Regions from separate parts of the Homo sapiens genome. Here region 1 is linked to region 2. Evidence: promoter capture Hi-C in 16 types of primary human blood cells and fetal thymus (Javierre and others, 2016). All regions are on one chromosome and are shown on one strand. The core of a region is centred on a gene start or on the middle of the fragment in contact, and the rest is flanking DNA. Distances in the headings are between cores, read along the strand shown.

Evidence for each region. The method cuts DNA at HindIII sites, captures the fragments that hold promoters and counts their contacts. A CHiCAGO score of 5 or more calls a contact.
Region 1: a contact is called between the fragment with the promoter of FARP1 here and the fragment with the promoter of DOCK9-AS1 in region 2, in 1 of 17 cell types (M2 macrophages). The highest score is 5.5, in M2 macrophages.

The regions. Positions count from the first base shown.
Region 1 is chr13:98,141,822-98,144,521 of GRCh38, reverse strand. FARP1 (FERM, ARH/RhoGEF and pleckstrin domain protein 1) reads right to left here and starts at 1,428. Exons shown (of 27, transcript NM_005766.4): 1 at 1,030-1,428. LOC105370328 (a long non-coding RNA gene) reads left to right here and starts at 612. Exons shown (of 3, transcript XR_931670.4): 1 at 612-683. RefSeq lists silencers at 1,378-1,687, 1,928-1,977. The HindIII fragment of the contact is 2,199 bases long and covers 1-1,965 here.
Region 2 is chr13:98,830,649-98,833,348 of GRCh38, reverse strand. It overlaps DOCK9-AS1 (DOCK9 antisense RNA 1), which reads right to left and starts at 1,265. Exons shown (of 3, transcript NR_046663.1): 1 at 1,206-1,265; 2 at 273-350. DOCK9 (dedicator of cytokinesis 9) reads left to right here. Exons shown (of 53, transcript NM_001366683.2): 40 at 1,563-1,700; 41 at 1,819-2,001. The HindIII fragment of the contact is 4,269 bases long and covers 1-2,700 here.

The sequences.
Region 1 (2,700 bases), core at 179-2,678, 690 kb after region 2:
ACTGACAAGGAGAAGAGCCTTAACAACAATATAATGAAACGGCCAGAGGCCACCGGTACTCCCCAGGGCTGGGAGAGACAGGGAGGCCGAGGCTGCTAAACTGTTCCAGATGACAAGCAGGCTCTCCCACGTCTCCACGAACTGATCAGATACCAGGGCCTCGCTTCTTTGTGAGCCTCAGCTCCCTCCTTTCTGGGGAACCCTACTCGATCCCCAACAGCCGCTGGCCTCCAGCTGCCACAAACGAGATCCAGACTCATTACAGGGAATTCGTATTTCCCCCCCTCAAATAAAACACACACACACACACACACACACAGAGTCTCCGGGGTCCAGCCGGATCACACAGCTAAAGTTTCCGGAACTTGAATCGTAAAACCACAATCAGAAGTTGTTTGGAAATACTCGCCGCAAAGCAATCTGTCCTTTGCTTTAAAAAATAAAAAATAAAAAAAACTTTGCCCTGCATAAAGGCAGACAGTAAAGAGAGACACAAATCTAACTTGGGCAGAGGGTGTGTTCCTCTTTGTCACCCGCCGGGAACCCTCGCGCCGCGCGTGGGCGAGCGGCGGGCACCCGGCGGCATCCGCGCCAGCGGCCACCTCCCCGGCCCGCAACCGGCCTCAGGGGCCGAGATTGCGGCCCGAGGTCCGGAAGCGGCGTCCAGCGCTGTCAGCGGGCGGGTAGGACGGAAGGAAACGGGGGAAGGGCGCCGGGGTCGGGGGAGGCGAGCGGGGACCGGCGCGGAGCCCCGCAGCCCGACGTCGGCGGAGGTGAGGGGAGAGGGGCGCAGGGGGCAGCCCGGAGCCCCGAGGCCCCCGAGCTCCTGCGATGGTGGCCGGGGCTGCCCGGGCCCGACCCGCCGCCCGACTGCGCAGGGCAGGACCTCGGGGACCACGCGCCCACCTTCGCCCGCAGCCGCGGCCGTGCGCTGCGGGAGCCTGGACTCGCACAAGTTGCCGCCCGCGGCCCGGACCCCGCCGGCCCCCGCCCTCCCGCCGCGGTCATTGTTCACCGCGCGCCTCCTACCTCCACAGCGCCGGCGGCTGCGGCGGCTCCCTCTCCCGGCTCGGGCTCCGGGATCGGCGGCTCCCAAGCCCCCGGCGGCCGAGGGCGCGGCGGCGCCGGCTATTAATACCCGCGGGCGGCGGCGGCGCGGGCGCGCGAGCAGGGCTGGCGGTGGCCGGCTGAGGTCCGAGCCATCAAAGGTGGCGCGGGGCGGAGGGGAGGGCGGAGCAGGCGGGGTGGGTGGGGAGCGGGCTCCGGGTCGCCATGGCCGCCTCGACGCCGGGGCCAGCGCTACTCGCGCAGGGAGGAGCGGCGCAAAGCGGGCAGCGGCCGCGTCCCCGCCCCGCGCCCCAGCCGAGCGCCCGCACCGCTGCGCCCGCGCCGGACCCGCCGCCTCTGAGGCCGGCGAGCGGGAAGTGCAGTGGCCACCGCCCCTCCCCGGGTCTGGGCCGGCCCCTCGGCGGGGGGAGGCGGGCGCCGCGCAGCCCGAGCAGCGGGGACGCGGGAGAGCCACAGCCCCCTCCAGCGTCCGGGCCCGCGCCCTGCGCCCGCCCCGCCCCGCTCCGCTCCGCCCGGGCAGGTGCGCCCAGGGGCCTCCCGAGCCCAGCGCGCCGCCGGGGATCTGCGCCTCTCTTGGGCTTCCGGCCAGGGCCGGGCTCCGCGCGGCGCTACCTAATGCAGCGCGGGGAGCGCCACTGGCGAGACGCGAATCCAGCAGCTGTGGCGAAAAACGAACCGGGGAGAGCGGGAGACGTGTGCACGGCGAAGCCGGGAGCGGCAGGCGGGCGGTCAGGGGCTCGGACTCTGCAGGTCGCTTTTTGAGGTCCTGCCTGGGGCTGCTTCGCCTGCGACGTCGCGCGGGGAGGACAGTCTTCAGGGACCCACCGAGCCCTCCCCTCCCCCGGAGCCACAGGCACGGGCTTCCGGCACCACCCCGGGCTGCGCGGGACTTAAGCTTGGGGGAGCGGCGGCCACCCCGCGCCCGCCCACGTCCTGGCCCAGCGCCCTCCGCCCGAGCGAATCCCATGACAGTTCCCGCCCGCCCAGCCTCGGGGGACAGTGCCCTTGGGGAATGGCGTGGGGGAGGTTAGGAGTGGCTTGCGGTGCTTGAGAGCCTTCGGGGTTTCGGGAACTCTACGGAGCGGGGAGCAAGATTCAGGACCCAGGAGGCAGCGATCTAGGGGCACAGTCACCGTCCCCACCCAGCAGCTGCCGCGTTACCTTCTCTTCCCCCTTCTGAGCCTCCAGTCCCTCTCTCTAAGCGTGGCGGGAAGAGGCCTAGGGCGCAGCAAGTGACGTTCTGCCAGACCCGGGGCTAGCGGATTCCGGCCTTCGGAGGCCACTGGCTCAGAACCGTGGGCCTTTTGCGTCTTACAGGAGTTCCCTGACCTCAGACCGAGAGGGCAGATTTCACGGGAGAGGCCTCAAGTGAACTCACAGCTGGACAGGAGCTGGGCAGAAGTGGAGTGTAGGGACCCTGATAGAAGGGCGGGTTGAGACAAGAACAGGGGTCTTGGAAGTAGGGGGTGCTTGTGGGCAGCTCCTGGGGAGGAGCAGAGATGTAATACTTGCAGATTTGGTGGTCTGTGGTTGAAGAGAAGAAATGGTGGGTTTGAGGCTTTGCTCTGTCAGCCCAACCAGCTGTGTGTCACAGATCAGATTTTTTTCTGCTCGTGATTCTCTAAGTGTGGT
Region 2 (2,700 bases), core at 16-2,515:
ACCTTAATCCAGTCATAATTAGGAATGTAAATTCATTGGAGGAAAGCAAGGCTTTCAAACTACAGCTCCTGAGAAAATGGCATTCATAGATAAAACTTGTAAGCAGTTCCCCAAACACTGGAAATCTTTTTTTTTTTTTTTTTTGGTTGAGAATTAGATCATGGTTGAGAACTAATTCTCATGGTTGAGAATTAGATCATATTCATTTAATTAGTCCCACTTTCTGCTCATTAAATTGCTCCCCTTTCACATGACGGAATTCAATATGGTACCTTAGTATTTCATGATAGAAAGATCACTGTGAATTCCAGGTGTTCTGCCAGCTGTGATAGATTCACAATTCACTGGACCTAAAAAAAAACAAAAACTTACTCCTTGAGGAAAAATTTCCCTCCAACAACAAGACAAGGTAGATCTTGCTCTGAAACTATGACCGCAACCATAATTTGCTATGTAGCAAAATTATATGGACATAAGTTACCCCTGTTCCGTTGGCCAAATTGTAAGATTGGTTTGAGATACTGGCCTCTTGACATTTTTTTTTATTAATGTCAAATCTGCCTACTTGTGCAGAATGCACACACCTATCGTTCCCCAACAGAGCTTTGTTCAGACAGCTTGTCTGTATTGGAAGGTGGTGGTGTGTCATTTAGTGTTGTGCACATTAGACACGAAGTTCATCCTGGCTGCTTGCTGGGCCACACCTCTAGCTGCTGTGTATATTCTACAGTTGATGGGAGTTGTAGCCAACCAGGCTTCCAAAGTGTTTAATTTGTGTGAATTTTCTACTGACATGAGGAAATCTTGAATGACTAGAAGCAAATTGTAGTCTTCTTGTTTTCTTTGATAAGTAAAATCCACGAATGTCAAAACCCTACTAGATGCCACCTACTGAGCTAGACCAAAGTATGCGTCAGATGGTTTCTACACTTGATCTCATGTCTTCACAGTCGCTGTTCAAGGTCAGTTTTAGGGTCATCATTTTACAGATGAGGATGCTGAGACTCAGTTTACCTGTGCAAATTCATGCCTATGATAAGTGGTACCTGACCAAAGCCTGTACACTTTCCACCTTACCAAACTCTCTGATTATTCATAGCTTAGCAGAGTGCCTTAGAGGCCTGGGGAGATCACTTTTCCCTTTTCGAAGACCTGTTTCATATACCTTACTTGAGTACTTTTTCCCATCTATAATTATCGCATACCTGTGATGGCACTTCTCTGTTGGAATTAAGATGTCACAAATGGCACCTCTGTATCAGCTGCTGGTGGACAGTAAAAATGAGTACATATTAATAAATAGAAGCCCAGTCAGTACTAAGCAAGTGTTCCTTTCAACTCTGTTAGTTTGCTGGGAGGTTCATCCCCAAAACATAAATGTATTGATAGATTTGCTTGTTCTACAAAAGAATTCTGTACTTTCCTAGAGGATTCAAGGCAGAGTTTGTTTAAAGTATAAGTTGTCTTAATACTTAGAAAATGTAATTCTTGAGCCTGAAATTGTGTGAAACCTACTAGAGGTGACTGGTATGTCTAACAAAGCCGTCAATGTGTGTTTTAAGAACCAGCTCCTGGCCGACCATGGACATAATCCTCTCATGAAAAAAGTTTTTGATGTCTACCTGTGTTTTCTTCAAAAACATCAGTCTGAAACGGCTTTAAAAAATGTCTTCACTGCCTTAAGGTCCTTAATTTATAAGGTAAGTTGCTTCATGGGCAGTGGTTAGATGTTTTCCTTCTTCCCCCGGAATTGAAGGGTACATTACCGAGCACTGACCTGTCTGTGGTTTATCTGCTGCTTCCTCTCATCCTGTCTAGTTTCCCTCAACATTCTATGAAGGGAGAGCGGACATGTGTGCGGCTCTGTGTTACGAGATTCTCAAGTGCTGTAACTCCAAGCTGAGCTCCATCAGGACGGAGGCCTCCCAGCTGCTCTACTTCCTGATGAGGAACAACTTTGATTACACTGGAAAGAAGTCCTTTGTCCGGACACATTTGCAAGTGCGTGTGGTTTAGCTTTCCAATACAGATTTACTCTGTAGAATCCTGCTGTATCAGGAAAACTTTGAGTATCACATTAACCAATTTACCTTGTCATAAAGATACTGCAAGATCTGGAAAACTGGGAAGCCACGTTTGCTGGCTTGGTTTATTTCATGTTCCATTACTATAAGATATGGGCCTGAGATGCGTTTCTGTTGGTAAATTGACATTTAAATATTGAATCAATATTGGACTGACTAAAATTCCATTGAATCAAGAAGTGTTAGAACCTATGTGAGGATGCTTAATAGTAAACATTTTAGGTAAGGAACAAGAAGCCCAACCTAAGTGGTTCTTTTCTGTCCTCTATCTGCTGACACATCTGCTATCTCTGCAGAATTAAAGCATCCTAAATTCTCTGCTCTGAGAGCCAGCCAAGATAATGACCAAACTTGTGTATTTTTGTAAACTCTCTTTTTCTACAAACACATGGTAGGTGTCCCTTTTCCATCTCTGTATTTAACCCTTTTTTTAAAAAACAATATTTATTGTCCACATAGGATTCGTGGATACAACCATGAACAAAACAACCCTCTCCCAGCCCTCATGGAGTGTAGTCTAATGGAGGTCACAGACAAGCTCTGGAACTCTGAGAGTACAAGTGTGACCACTGTTATTGTAGAGGAACTTGAGTGTATCAGGAGGGGCACCTAGAGG